2 separate regions of the Homo sapiens genome follow, and region 2 is linked to region 1. Evidence: promoter capture Hi-C in human tissues and cell types (Jung and others, 2019). All regions are on one chromosome and are shown on one strand. Each heading gives the region's core, a stretch centred on a gene start or on the middle of the fragment in contact. The rest is flanking DNA. Distances are from core to core; before and after follow the strand shown.

Evidence for each region. Contacts are between HindIII fragments. The study calls those that stand out against the background at their distance.
Region 2: a contact is called between a fragment that was not itself captured here and the fragment with the promoter of CPD in region 1, in 1 of the 25 tissues and cell types used here (dorsolateral prefrontal cortex).

The regions. Positions count from the first base shown.
Region 1 is chr17:30,374,918-30,382,746 of GRCh38, forward strand. CPD (carboxypeptidase D) reads left to right here and starts at 4,010. Exons shown (of 21, transcript NM_001304.5): 1 at 4,010-4,809. The coding sequence starts at 4,064. RefSeq lists enhancers at 1,736-2,025, 2,276-2,325, 3,596-3,765, 3,911-4,838 and silencers at 3,816-4,055, 4,356-4,485. The HindIII fragment of the contact is 4,583 bases long and covers 1,025-5,607 here.
Region 2 is chr17:30,786,264-30,794,092 of GRCh38, forward strand. It overlaps CRLF3 (cytokine receptor like factor 3), which reads right to left. Exons shown (of 8, transcript NM_015986.4): 5 at 7,187-7,409; 6 at 6,177-6,309. It also overlaps the pseudogene SUZ12P1. Among named protein-coding and RNA genes, the nearest start is that of CRLF3, 35 kb to the right of the region's middle. The HindIII fragment of the contact is 4,601 bases long and covers 1-4,200 here.

The DNA of each region.
Region 1 (7,829 bases), core at 2,760-5,259:
CAGCTATCCCTTAGCCTTGCCCAAATGGTTCCTGGAATTTTCTTGCTAAAACACAGGTGCGATCCACACCATTCCTCCTCACAAACAGCTCTGTAAGTTTTCCATTTGCTTTGGAATAAAGCAAAACCCCATTAGTGTGGTATTCAAAGCCTTCATCTACTTCTAGTCTTTGCAGGCATGGCTTCTGCTGCTCTTCCTAACACATCTTGTATTCCAGCCACCAGTCACGAAATCCCTCTCTGTGCATCTATCCTTGCTGGTCTCTCTGCCTGGAGTGCTCTTTTCTCCATTTTTACCATTTGAGAATTTCTATTATTAAAAACAATAGAAATAACGGTGATTTCTGAACGCTTGTTATATGCCAAGTATTATATTAAATGTTATGTATGTATTATTTCTTTTAATTTTCAGAGAAATGAAGTAACTTGCCCTGGTTACAATGGCTGAAAAGGGACTGATCCAGGATTTGAACTTGGTTCTGCTGTTGAAGAGCATGATCAAGCAGTATTGGTGACGTTTTCTCTGACTCTTCATTATTTTTATTTTTAATTTCTTTTATTTATTTATTTTGTATTTTTAGTAGAGACGGGGTTTCACCATGTTGACCGGGCTGGTCTTGAACTCCTGACCTCAGGTGACCTGCCCGCCTCGGCCTCCCAAAGTGCTGGGATTACAGGCTTGAGCCACCGAGGGAGGTGACTCTTCATTATAATGGCTTTTGTGTGTTCCAAAAACAGGTTTTTGTTTTTTGTTTTTTTAAGCTTACTATATAGAAACAGTTTTATTACAGAATTTAAGCACACAGACTCTGAAGTCACACTCCCCAGGTTTGAGTCTTGGATCTGTGGCTTGCCAGCTGTGTGACCTCATGTCTCCTCTCTTTATCTTTGAAATGGGAATGATAATAGCACCAGCCTCATAGGACTGTTGTGAAGATGAAATGAGTCAACCAATGTAAAGGGTTTTGCACAGTGCCTGTTATGTAACTCTTGTCCAGCAGACACATCCAGTCCTGTGTTGTGTCTATGTTCTGTGTCCCTTCCTAGATTCTGTCCTCTGGGAGGGGAGAGATCCCCTTCATTCATTTTCCAATCCTCCTGTACCTGGCACAACAGACCTTTCGCCAGATTGGGTGCTCCACAAACATTTGTCAAATTGAATTTGTAAATCTGCAGGTGTTTGTGCTGGACAATGAGACACTTACAAGTTCCCGGTCTATGCTATGCTTTAATTACCTACGAATCTTGTGAAGAAAATGGTTCTTGAATCAGGCTGGTCATCTAAAAGCTTTTGCCCTGTTTTTAAAAAATCCACGTCAATTCTTTGTCATTTCTTGGTGCTAGAAACATTTCAAATCTCTTTGAGCTAAATGAGGTGATGGCTATCCAGAATGTCCTGGTTTGATCATAATATATTGTATGCATGTATCAAAATATCAAATGTATCCCATAAATATGTACAATTATCATGTATCAAATACAAAAATTAAAAAAAAAAATCCAAGTCATTGCCACTCTGCTTCTGTGAACAGGAAGCCTTTTTACCTTCAAGCCTTTCCCAAGTCCCTTCCATTTGTAAGGCCACACCTTTTCCTTGGGGAAAGAGGAAAGAAACACCTGTCATAAGGTTCAAGACTTCTCAGACACAATTGGAGGTATTCAGCTGTAGGTAAACACAAACCTGTAGGTAAACACAAAAGTGACTGAGGTCCAGAGCTTTGGGTTTCACTTATAACCATAAGCAACTGTGTACCTGCTAAGGAAGAAGGCTGCAGACCTGAAAGAGGCCCACGGAAGGCCTGGGGATTTCTGAGAGGACACCGGCTCAAGTTACATTCCCATATTATTTCACCACCCTCATGCTTGTTTATTTACATTTCAGGCTGCCTCTCTAGGCGAGGCTGCAGGAGTGAAGGGGCTGGAAGAGGTTTCAAAGGAGAGTGAACGTGGTAGAAAAGGAAATATTTGATTAGAAGTTAACATGTCCTCTGGGGCTTCTTTGACTTGGATTACTGTAAAAGTGCATGGTGTAATAGTTGAGCACTCCCGGGAGGTGGTGGGCGGTCTCTCTGTACAGAGTTGTGGCTTTGTTTCTGATGAGTTGCAGCTGCTGTGCATAATGTAGACTAGATCAAATGGGGCATGGAGAAGAGCCATTCACAGGACCGGAGTGACGGTGCTCGCTCTGATGGCAGAATACTAAATTAATCATCTTCACCTAAACCTGTGCTTTCTCCTGGCCTGTACCTCAGTGAATACCTGCAAGTTGCTTAGGCTGTAACTTGAAGTCAGCCTACAATCCTCTTTGTCTCCAGATCCTGTCCACTTTCCTTTCCGAAGGTCTTTCAGATCCATTTCCTTCTTTCCACCTCCACTGGCACTGCCCTCATTCAGAGTCTCATCATGTCTTCCTGGATTGCAGCTTCCTTCCAGGTCTCTCAGCCTCAAGTCTTAGGCCTCCCATTCAATTTTCCGTGTTACTGTCAGAGGAATTTTTCTAAACTAGCTTAAAACCCGTCTGTGGTTCTCCATGGCCTTCCAGATCAAATGTGCTCCCTGAAGACTGGCCTGTGAGCCCCTTCACACCAGTAATCCTGACCCTGCATGCAATTCCCAGAACACAAGGCATTTGTTCTCAAATCCTGCGGCTTTCTTTGCTTGCTTCTCCTCCTGCCTGGGATCCTTCCCATCCTCCATGGTTTCTCTCCTCCTTTCCTCCTCCTCAAGTTCAGATATTTCCCTCACCTGTACCCCCTCTGTTGTAGCATTTATCACAAACTACACTGAATCTCTTGACTGGGCAGAAGAATGAATTGTTTCCCAGCATCTAGCTTTGACATAAAAGTTGCTCAATAAATACTTGACGAATGAATGAACTCTATTAAAGTAGGGTTCAGTCATAGTTCAGGGAAGGGGCCCTGAAATAGCTGGCTCTGAAAGAAGGTAATGCCGGTTATTGCGATTATGTTGTTAGATGGGTAGAATTTCGCATTCGATTAAGGGATAGTTTTGGGTTTCTTCAAGCTAAAGAAACTAAAGCCTATAAAAGGTGATTTAAAAGACCTCTTCTCTAGACTTGATGAAACGCTGTAATTGCCATCTTTGGCTGACACTGAGGAGTTCAGGAATGCCAAGCAAGTGTTTCCAGAAATGTCAAACCTGCTGTTTTAAAATATGTCATTCCAGGGCACAGTTAAATATACAACTTGCTCCGATGAGGTGGGAGAAGTGGGCCGGTGAGCTGTGAAATGAAATCTGCCTAATGAGGGTCGAGGCCAGCACACACAGGGACCTATTTGCAGTAAAACAACGTGGGGTGACGCCTAAGAAATAGACAACATTAACACAAAGGGAGCCTACTACGTAGCACATTTCCGCTAGGCATAAAAGAGACACCTTTCCAGAAAGCAACTCTAAAAATGAATGCACCGCCTAGTGAGGTGCGAGCCTTCCTCCCCACGAGGCGTCCCGTGCAACCGCACGCGGACAGCGGGGCTCCAGCGGAGGCGGGGTGGATGCGGAGACAAGGCGCCTAGGAGACTGGGCTAAGGCTTTGAGTGTCCGAACGAAGATTCTTTCGAACCTATTGATTTTTTCTAGTCTTATGATTCTTTCGAACCTTTTGATTCTTTCCATTCTCGGTTCTAAGCATTAAAGCGCAGCTGAGAAAGGCAGCAACAAAGATGGGAAGAGAACTAGCAGGAGTTCTCAGAGAAAAATGGGTGATAATTTAGGGGAGAAGCCATAAAGAAGAGACTAAGCGAGAAGCGGAGCACACGCAGAAGACGAAACAAGGAGGAGGAGAAGAGAAGAAGAACCTTGGCGAAGGAAGAGAGTGACCAAACTCGTCCCGGACGGGAGGAGGGCAGGCCCGCCCAGAGGGAATCGGCTGCTTTAAGGGAAGCCCCGCCCCCTGGTGGTGACGCTCCACCAGGCCCGTCCGCGATTGGCTGCGGCCAGAGGGCGGGATGGGGTTGCTAGGCGAGGAGGGGATCCGGCGGGCCCCCGCCGCCCGGAGCGCTGAGCCGCGGGAGCGGAGCCGGGGTTAGCGGCGCTGCTGGAAGATGGCGAGCGGCCGGGACGAGCGGCCGCCTTGGCGGCTAGGGCGGCTCCTGTTGCTCATGTGCCTGCTGCTGCTGGGGAGCTCGGCCCGGGCGGCTCACATCAAGAAGGCGGAGGCGACTACCACAACTACGAGCGCGGGCGCCGAGGCGGCCGAGGGCCAGTTCGACCGCTACTACCACGAAGAGGAGTTGGAGTCGGCGCTGAGGGAGGCGGCGGCCGCGGGCCTCCCCGGCCTGGCCCGCCTCTTTAGCATCGGCCGCTCGGTGGAAGGCCGGCCGCTGTGGGTGCTTCGCCTCACCGCCGGCCTGGGGTCGCTAATCCCTGAGGGCGACGCGGGGCCTGACGCTGCCGGGCCCGACGCTGCGGGGCCGCTGCTGCCCGGCCGGCCCCAGGTGAAGCTGGTGGGCAACATGCATGGCGACGAGACCGTGTCGCGCCAGGTGTTGATCTACTTGGCCCGCGAGCTGGCGGCCGGCTACCGCCGCGGGGACCCGCGCCTGGTCCGCCTGCTCAACACCACCGACGTGTACCTGCTGCCCAGCCTCAACCCCGATGGCTTCGAGCGTGCCCGCGAGGGCGACTGTGGCTTCGGCGACGGCGGCCCGTCCGGGGCCAGCGGCCGCGACAATAGTCGCGGCCGCGACCTCAACCGAAGCTTTCCCGACCAGTTTAGCACCGGCGAACCCCCCGCCCTGGACGAGGTGCCCGAGGTGCGCGCCCTCATCGAGTGGATCCGCAGGAACAAGTGAGTGTTGCCTGCCCCCTCCCCGTCCGTGTGAGCCTCCAAGGGCCGAGGCTGGTTCCGGCACCCAGTAGGCGCTCAGACAATGCTGGCATAAGGGGTGGCGGTGGTGAAGGTGAAGGGAGACACCCTGTAACGGGGACAGGGCCCAGGCCGCGTAGCCTCCCGTCCTGCTAATCATCAAAGAATTGCCTCCTAGAGGCTGTCATTTGTTCAAGGGATGGCTGGAGGGGACACTCCTTTCTGACATTTCTGGTCCCTATTCTTACAGGGGCATAGAATATGAGCGAGAAGAGATCTTAAGGATAACCTAGGTCAGCTCACACATTTTATAGATAAGCTGTCAATGTTGTTATCTTATATCAAAAGTGCCTAATGTTATAGGCGCTGTGCTAATTTTTTCTGTGACTGCAGTATCTCACTTTATTTTGGCCACAACCTGATGTCATAGACACCATCAGTTTTGCATACGGGGAAATTGAGGGTCAGATTGGTTAACTGATTTACATAGGAGTGTGGCTGGGACTTAGAATTAGGCAATCTGATTCCCGATAGTCCTCTTAGCCACGGAGGGACACTGGAGCCCAAAAATGGCAGATGATATTCCCAGGATCTTCCCCTTGCCTATTTGACAGAAGCTGATTTTTCTCCAATTTTTACCTCTGACTCAGCTTAAGAAGATATGGACTTAGCTGGAGAACTTGCACAGATCTGTGAGCCGCTTCATTTTAGACTCTGAAGGGTTTGTGATGTCATTTGTGCACCTTATTAGCCTGGGCAGAATGGCTAATGGTCACACTTCTAATACACACTTTAAGTGTTATTAAGCATTGCATGAGGTTTAAAAAATTACAAAGTAGAAGAAGGAGGACCTCAAGAAATTAGTATAAAACAAGAGAATGTTATAAATATTTATGAGGTATGTTGGTGTACCCAGTTAAACTTTACAGGAATTGTTCCCACTGGCAAGATGTGTGTGGGCTGCAATAACACGGACCATCTCTGTGGAAGAGGTAGAGCTTGAGCTATCTCCAGAGATGGGCAGGATTTTCAGCAAAAAGGAGAGGAATAAAATAAGAGGGAACTCACTCCAGATGGCATAGTGTCTGAAGTGAGCAGGCATCTCTTCCCCTTTTCTAGCATCAGCTTTTCCCCATTTTTGTATCTTCATAAGGCTTTTGAAGCAATAACTGATCATTCCATCTGGATTAAAAGAAGATTTCTGAGGGACTGCTAAGATAAAGAAGTTTCCCTGCGGGACTTGGAATCATTTCTTCTACAAGATTTCAGTCATATATAGAAGATCTAGAAAATTCTTGAGTGTTAGGACAGTTCCTGAGTCTTTTCGTCTTCTATCTTTTACTTTACTCCTCTTGATAAGCTCTCTTGTAGATATATAATTTCACATAGACTTTCTGGGAGGATTTTTTTTTCTTTTAAATACGATCGTGTCATCACCTCTGAACATCTGCGTAAGAAATATGACTTTGACATACACTTATTGACAGAGCTGTGATGGCCAGGGCTTTTTGGAGATGATACAACAAATGCACCGTTTGCATTGCTTAAATGTTTAAAATGCTCTGTCCTTGCACCTTTAAAATGCTGTGATCCTTGCAGGGATGTAAATTCTGTGCCTGGATTTTTCTTTTCAGTATTAGTTGTGCTGTGACCAAATATGAAAATAAGCTTTTTCTTGGTGCAAGTCGCCTTGAGGCTATACAGAGTCATTTTGGTCTGTGGCTGTGGACTACCCTAATCATATCTGTTCTTCAAATATGTAACTCTCATTAATCAAAAGGGAAAGTAGGTGATCATATATGGTAAAGAGTACATCCATCCTAACTCAGTCTTCAAGAATTCACTCAAAATGCGTACTCTGTGCTATTAACCAATAACAAAGGACACTGATATGTGAATAAAATTAAAAACACAAGCACACACACAATTTGATATTGATGCCTAAATATAGTGTCAACTTTATGGATGGGATATTTTTAAATACTCAAACATTAGTCTGTATGGGAAAACTACCTTTTTCAGTGTATTTTGTGAGGTAAACCATTTGAGTAATTTCTTGATATCCTATTCACCCAGCTATATTCGAATTAGATTTTTGTTGTTATTTCGAATATGTAAAATTTTAAGGCTTAATTTCCTCCAGCTTGGGAAAATGAAGTTTATTTTCTTTGTTTCACTTTATACTTCATCCAATGGATGTTGAGACAAATACTTAAGAAAATATATAAAAAAATTAACTTTATCATTCAAATGAAGATTTTATAGTTGACTCCTATTTTTTTATAGTTGACCGCTATGCTTCTTTAAGTGAATATACCTGCTTAAATTTTCATAGGTAATTAGCATATAAATGATATTTGAATGTGTTTGTGAAAAGCATTATTACAGTGTTGAGAGTGGGTGCAGATGATTTTTTTGGGGGCTTATGTATACATATCTATGATTGTCTGAATCTTTGAAATTTAGTTTGTCAGATATCAAGTTATCTTAATTTTTTTCAAGTTATCTACAGGGTTACCTGGATAGCGTAATAGAGTTAATTTAGAGATTAACTGTTTAATATTTATAAACTCATTTGTAATATCTCTAATATATTTACCAGCTACTTTAAATCTTATGCAAGGAATGATATGTGATACTGAAGTCAAGTATGAGAAACATTTCAGAGAATTGATTTGAATGGAAACCATAAAGTACCTGTCAAATAAGATTGGAGTTGATTTGCAAAGTTGATTTGACAAAAACTCAAAGCATAATCTTACAGCCATTGTAGTCACTTTCTCTTGAAATCTTCATTGTAAGAATGACACTGGTACTTTCAAAACTGTGTAATTACAGTAAGGAAAATCGAAGTGAATTTTATTACTCAAGTAGATTGCAAATATTTCATTGTTCAAAAGTATTTGATTAGGCCATTTTGACAATATTTCTGAGAAGTGTTGGAAGAAATGTTGAACAAAATGAGAAACAGCATTTTGTAGAGAATCTTGGATTTTAAAGTT
Region 2 (7,829 bases), core at 650-3,149, 410 kb after region 1:
GAGTCTCGCTCTGTCACCCAGGCTGAAGTGCGGTGGTGCGACCTTGGCTCACTGCAACCTCCGCCTCCCGGGTTCAAGCAGTTCTCTGCTTCAGCGTCCCAAGTAGCTAGGATTACAGGTGCCCGCCACCATACCCGGCTAAGTTTTCTATTTTTAATAGAGATGGGGTTTCACCATCTTGGCCAAGCTGGTCTTGAACTCCTGACCTTGTGATCCACCCACCTCGGCCTCCCAAAGTGCTGGGATTACAGGCGTGAGCCACTGCGTCCAGCCGGTAGGTGCTATTTTTAACATACCCATTTTATAAGTGAGGAAAATGAGGCACGAAAAGAAAAAAAGATTAAAAATAGCTAAATAACCTGATCCCGACTACCTGGCTGATGACTGGTGGAACCAGGACTCAAACACAGGCATTCTGACTCTAGAATCAATCAATCTATCTATCTATTTTTTTGAAATGGAGTTTCATCCTTGTTGCCCAGGCTGGAGTGCAATGGCGCGATCTCAGCTCACTGCAACCTCTGCCTCCCTGGTTCAAGCGATTCTCCTGCCTCAGCCTCCTGAGTAGCTGGGATTACAGGGATGCACCACCATGCCCGGCTAGTTTTGTATTTTTAGTAGAGACGGGGTTTCACCATGTTGGTCAGGCTGGTCTCGAACTCCTGACCTCAGGTGATCCGCCTGCCTCGGCTTCCCAAAGTGCTGGGATTAGAGGCGTGAGCCACCACACCTGGCCTAATTTTGTATTTGTAGTAGAGACACGGTTTCACCATGTTGCTCAGGCTGGTCTTGGAACTCCTGACCTCAGGTGATCCACCCTCCTTGGCCTCCCAAAGTGCTGGGATTACGGAGTGAGCCACCGTGCCCGGCCTAGAATCTATATTCTTAACCATTTGTAGCCATGATGGCACACTTCTATTTTATATTCTAGCTCTAGACACATAGAAGGTTTGTCATAGTTGACATTATAATTTATGTAACTATTGCTGCCAGCGCCTAAATCTTCCATATAAGAATTTGCAATGATTTGATTACTATTTGTTAAGTAAATAAAGCATTTAAAAAGAACTATTATAATCCTAAAAAATCCCATTATGGTTATGAAGACACTATTCAAGCATGAAGAACTTCCTATGTGGCAAGTTTAAGCTTTTCCTTTTGTGTTTTCATTTCAGATGTCAGTACTTTGTGTGCTCTTGAAATAGGAAATGTACAGATCCCTATTGCCAGACACATCATTCTCTCCATCCAGAAAGCCAACTTTGCAAGGACAAAAAAAAAAATTAGTGTGAAACAAAATGTGGCTTTTCCAAAGACAGATGTGATTATTTATAGTCAATGTGGCCTCAAAATGTCATTGATTGTGAAATAGCAAACATGCAGGATCATAATATTTGGGTAGGTTTCTGAAGTTATTTCATATCTGAGCAGTCTAAAGAAGTATGGGGAGGAGGGGCCGGGCATAGTGGCTCACACCTGTAATCCCAGCACTTTGGGAGGCCAAGGAGGGTGGATCACCTGAGGTCAGGAGTTCCAAGACCACCCTAGGCAACATGGTGAAACCCCGTATCTACAAAAAATACAAAAATTAGCTGGGTGTGGTAGTGGCTCCTGTAATCCTAGCTACTCAGGAGGCTGAGGTGAGAGGGTCACTTGAACCTGTGAGATGGCGATTGCAGTGAGCTGAGATCATGCCACTGCACTTCAACCTGGGCGACAGAGCGAGACCTTGTCTTAAACAAAAAGAGGGGGAGAGCTGGGGAGGGGAATGAGAAAGAAAATAGGCCGGGTGCAGTGGCTCACGCCTGTAATCCCAGCACTTTGGGAGGCCGAGGTGGGCGGATCACAAAGTCAGGAGATTGAGACCATCCTGGCTAACACGGTGAAACCCCGTCTCTACTAAAAATACAATAAATTAGCCGGGCGTGGTAGCAGGCGCCTGTAGTCCCAGCTACTCAGGAGGCTGAGGTGAGAGGGTCGCTTGAACCTGAGAGGTGGAGGTTGCAGTGAGCCGATTGTGCCATTGCATTCCAGCCTGGGCAACAGAATGAGACTTTGTCTCAAAAAAAAAAAAAGAAAAGAAAAGAAAAGAAAGAAGGAAACCTTAAAAAAAATCAGAAAATCTTAGAAGCAAGGAAAGAGCAGGAATGTTCACATAGGAAGTGAGGGAGACCTGGAAGGAGGGGGTTGCTAGCAGACCTGGGCATCTAATGAGAGTGGGTCTAGAGACTGTTAAAATCCAGCCAGTATCACAGGTTTCTCTGGCTTCAGCAGCTCCAAGCCTTCCAGAAGCTTCAGCAGGGACTGACTGGGATAAATAACAAAGTAGTGCCTTCTTTTTTTTTTTTTTTTTTTTTTTTTTGAGACAGCATCTCACTCTGTTGCCCCGGCTAGAGTACAGTGGCGTGATCTCGGCTCACTGCAACCTCCGCCTCCTGGGTTCAAGCGATTCTCCTGCCTCAGCCTCCTGAGTAGCTGGGATTACAGGCACACACCACCACGCCCGGCTAATTTTTGTATTTATAGTAGAGATGGGGTTTCACCATATTGGCCAGGCTGGTCTCGAACTCCTGACCTCGTGATCTGCCCACCTCAGCCTCCCAAAGTGCTGGGATTACAGGCGTGAGCCACCGTGCCCGGCTAACGTAGTGCCTTCAAGAGTATAGTCTCCCTTCTAACTACTAGGCCCTTAAGTACCCTCAAAAAACTAAATATTGTTTCTCTTGATTCAAGTAGGCGCACTTGCTCCTCCCTTATGCCCTTATGCATGGAGTCCCCCTTGCATTCACATCTCTGGCTTCACTGCTGATGCCTGAAATTCCTTTAAACAAGGGGAGAAAACATTTCATTCCACAAAGAAAAAAATGACAAAAATGCAAAAGGCTGGCTACCATTATATTGAGTTTAACTGAATTTCAGTTAATCACCCTGCCAAGTGGGGCCTGGTGATGCATCTTTAGGAGATGCAAGAGAGACTCAACAGTTTATTGAGACCTAATGTGTCTTTCACATCACGGTCAGCAGAGGTGAATTTAAATCAATTTGTATAATTTCCAATGTCTTAATAAATATTTACTGAATGGTCTAAGAAATAAACCTAACTATGCAATCTATCAGACATTACCATGTGTCCAAGGAGGAAGAATTTAAAAAGCAGGAGAGCATCAGATCAAGTGGTGAAAGGTCATAAGAGGTAAAAGTTAAAGAGCTAAGGACACAGTAATAGAGAAACTGTAGACTTCAACACTAACTAGAATCATGTTAACTCTCCCATGAAAAAGAAGCAATACAGACCAGTCTGGAGTCGAACTGCCTGGATTTAAACCCTAGTTTTGGCATTTACTAGCTGTGTGACACTGGGTAAATAACTTCTCTATGCCTCAGTTTCCTCATCCCTAAAATAAATAACCCATCTATCTCACTGGGTTACCATGAAAATCAAATGAGTTAATACAAGTAAAATACTTAAGACAGTACATGGCACATAGTAAATACTGTTTAAATATTAACTGCAATTATTATTATTATCATCATTATTGCAGTCTGAGATATCTGGCCTGAATTTATCAAGTTAGGAAGCTCTGTCATTGCACAGAAATACCTTGTTCTCAGGAGAGTCACTAACCGAAGTGCTTCTGTAAACAAGGGACATAAGCAGAGAAGGGGTATGTAAGTACAGAAAACTCATGATTACCTGGGGAATAGTTAAATAGATTTTAGGTATTAGTTGTTTTTTTTTTTCCTCTCTCTCTCTTTGTTGGTATTTTTCTGTTTACTGAGTCATTCTTCATTAAGGGGTGAGGTGTCAAAAATTAGACAAAACAAACTAGTATAATCTGACAACCGCTGACAATTCAAATTACTTAGCTGGAGAGGAATACAGCAACACTGGCTTAGATAAAATATTCAGATATTCTCCATGCCTTAAATAATAAGGGCCTGAGAACAAAAGGAACTTGGGTCAAGCATTCACAATAAAATCCCATCTCAAGACTTAAAACTTAGAGGAGAGCTTGTTACACTAAGGTGAGTATGGTGAAAATCAGGCAAACTTTACTTCTCTAAGTCAAAACTGGTCTTTAGTTTCTACGAAGAGCTATTCAGAAACATGACTATAAAGAATACATCTCAGATAACATGAAAACAAGAAAAAAGAAACTTTTCCATTACAGAAAGAAATGGGTAGAGAAACAACATTAATTAGTGGTAGGGGAGGCTTGCTTTCAGTTTTACTTTAGAGAGTAGCATATACATAATATGTTTACAGTGTTGTCTCTTACAAAGACTTGCTGTTAATGATTCACAAAGGACAAAACAAATTCTTGGCCAGTAAATTTTTTTGCTTTTTTTTTTTTTTTTTTTTTTTTTTTCCAGACGGAATCTTGCACTGTCTCCCAGGCTGGAGTGCAGTGGCACGATCTCTGCTCACTGCAACCTCCGCCTCCAGGCTTCCAGTGATTCTCCTGCTTCAGCCTCCCGAGTAGCTGGGACTACAGGCGCACCTCACCACACCCAGCTAATTTTTAGTATTTTTAGTAGAGACGAGGTTTCACTATGTTGGCCAGGATGGTCTCGATCTCCTGACCTCGTGATCTGCCCACCTCGGCCTCCCAAAGTGCTGGGATAATATGCATGAGCCACAGTGCCCGGCCTATGCTTTTTTTCTTTTTTTTGAGACGGAGTCTCGCTCAGTCACCCAGGCTGGAGTACAGTGGCGCGATCTCAGCTCACTGTAACCTCTGCCTCCCAGGCTCAAGCAATTCTCATGCCTCAGCCTCCTGAGTGGCTGGGATTATAGGTGTGTGCCACCACACCCTGCTAATTTTTTTTTTCTTTTTGAGACGGGTCTTGCCCTGTTGCCAGGCTGAAGTGCAATGGCTCACTGCAACATTTGCCTCCCGGGTTCAAGTGATTCTCCTGCCTCACTCTCCCTAGTTGCTGGGATTACAGGTGTGCACTACCACATCCAGCTAATTTTTGTATTTTTAGTAAAGATGGGGTTTCACCATGTTGGCCAGGGTGGTGTCTTGATCTCCTAACCTTGTGATCCACCCACCTCAGCCTCCCGAAGTGCTGGGATTACAGGCGGGAGCCATTGCGCCTGTCCTAATATTTGTATTTTTAGTAAAGATGGGGTTTTACCAGGTTGACCAGGCTGGTCTCGAACTCCTGACCACAAGTGATCCAACCGCCTCGGCCTCCCAAAGTGCTGGGATTACAAGTGTGAGCCACTGCGTCCAGTCTCTTGGCCTCTAAAATTTTTTTTTTTTTTGAAACGGAGTCTTGCTGTGTCGCCCAGGCTGGAGTGCAGTGGCGTGATCTCGGCTCACTGCAAGCTCCGCCTCCCGGGTTCACGCCATTCTCCTGCCTCAGCCTCCCGAGTAGCTGGGACCACAGACACCCACCACCATGTCCGGCTAATTTTTTTATTTATAGTAGAGATGGGGTTTCACCATGTTAGCCAGGATGTTCTCAATCTCCTGACCTCGTGATCCGCCCGCCTCAGCCTCCCAAAGTGCTGGGATTACAAGTGTGAGCCACCGTGCCTGGCCAGGCCTCTAAATTTTTAAGATTTACTTTTTAATTTTGTGTGTGTGTTTGAGACACAGTTTCGCTCTTGTTGCCCAGGCTGGAGTGCAATGGCATGATCTCAGCTCACTGCAACCTCTGCCTCTTGGGTTCAAGCAATTCTCCTGCCTCAGCCTCCCAAGTAGCTGGGATTGCAGGCATATGTGCCACCATGCCCGGCTGATTTTGTATTTTTAGTAGAGATGGGGTTTCTCCATGTTGCTCAGGTTGGTCTCGAACTCCCGACCTCAGGTGATCCACCTGCCTCGGCCTACCAAAGTGCTGGGGTTACAGGTGTGAACCACTATGCCCAGCCTAAGATTGACTTTTGAGAGATACTCTACTTACCTCTACTTACCAAGAGGAAAAGAGATATAAACATATTAAATAACAAGCATTTTATATACATTTCCCAGTTAATCTACGTAATAACCCTGTGAATACAGATGAGAAAACTACAGCTACAGGAAATAAAGAAGCCTTCCCACAGTAACACTGCCTATAAATGACGGAATAAACTCAGGATGTTTTGAATTCAAAGCTTATGTATGCTCTATGCACTTCACTCTGCTTCCTGAGGCAGGTGAGATGTTTTAATATCTACTTGCCTGAATGTTAATGTCTGCCCACAGAAATAAGTCGGAGCTCTGGAGTAGAGAACACCCGATGATTCAGAATCGTTCCGAAGTGCTATATTTCTTCGACTGCTCAGACTGTACCCCTCAAAACCAGCTGTCCACTCTTTTTCAAAGCAAAGATATTGAAAACTGTTAGAATCTCTTGAGGGATATCTTCAATACAGACACGTTAAATAAAACATGGAAATGGGAGACTACTCTTAGGGGCCATGGTCAAGTTCAATAAAATAAAAGATTCCATTAACAGGGTATCATGATCAGTCCCACAAATTACAAAAGATTTTAGTATATTCCTGCATAATTTTGACATAATAAATCACACAAGTGTTATCTCTTATCTAATAAAATCATTGTACAAGCATAATTGCTTGAACTTATTCCAACCTGATAAAAATCTAATTAATAGGCCAGGCGCGGTGGCTCACGCCTGTAATCCCAGCACTTTGGGAGGCCGAGGCAAGAGGATTGCTTGAGCCCAGGAATTTGAGACCAGCCTGGGCAACATAGCAAGACCCAGTCTCTAGAAAAAAATAAAAAATTAGCCAGGTGTGGTGTGCATGCAGGTGGTCCCAGCTACTTGGGAGACTGAGGCAGAAGGATCTAGAGGTCAGGCTGCATGATTGCACCACCACACACCAGCCTGGGCGACAGAGTGAGACCTTGTCTCAAAAAAACTAACTAAATAACATTCAAATATAAAAAAAAGAATAAAAAGGAATATCAGTGCCCTACATAATATTTTCAATCTTTGGTTTTCAATGAGGCTAAAAATCTTGTCCAGCATTTTTTTTGGACTCTGAAGAACTGATGAAAACAAAAATCACATGAGGTAATCTGAGTAAAAGACATGGTGCATGTTGTTCTTATCAATTCAGGATCTATGCTTAGAATAGCTGGTTGTCAGTGTGCTGCCCTTAGCACAGAATACAGGTATTCTAATATATAGTTAGGCTTCAGGAGAGAAAAGGTTAGCAGCATACCATGAGGCACCAATGTGGAATGACCTATCTGGGGGACACTCCAAGGACTCCACTCCTGTCGGCCATCTCCTCGGGCGCAGACTCTGAACTGGTAATCAACGTTGGGGTCTATGTGCAATACTATGAATTCAGTTTCAGAACCTACATATACATCCTCAAAATGATTTGAAGTACATTTACGAAACTGGAGCCTGTAATCTTGGGCTGTAAAGTCATCATCCACCTAGGGAGAAAAGCTTTATGTTAGGTAAAAAACAGAAAATGACTTCTCTCAGCATCACTGCTTAAAAATTTTGAACGGAGCCATTTTGGACCAAGCAGACAGGCCCACATGCTGAATATGGGGTATTCTTGGGAAGGCCATAGAAAATATGCCATCACATCATTATCTCCCTTCTTTTTTTTTTGAGAAAGGGTCTCACTTTGTCACCCAGGCTGTAGTGCAGTGGCGTGATCTCGGCTTATTGCAGCCTCCACACCCCGGGTTCAAGCCATCCTCTTCCTTCCACCCCACAAGTAGCTGGGATTTCAGGTGCACACCACCATGTCCGGCTAATTTTTTGTATTTTTTGTAGAGACTGGGCTTCACCATATCTCAGATCTTTAACTCCTGAGCTCAAGCAATCTTCTCGTCTCAGCCTCT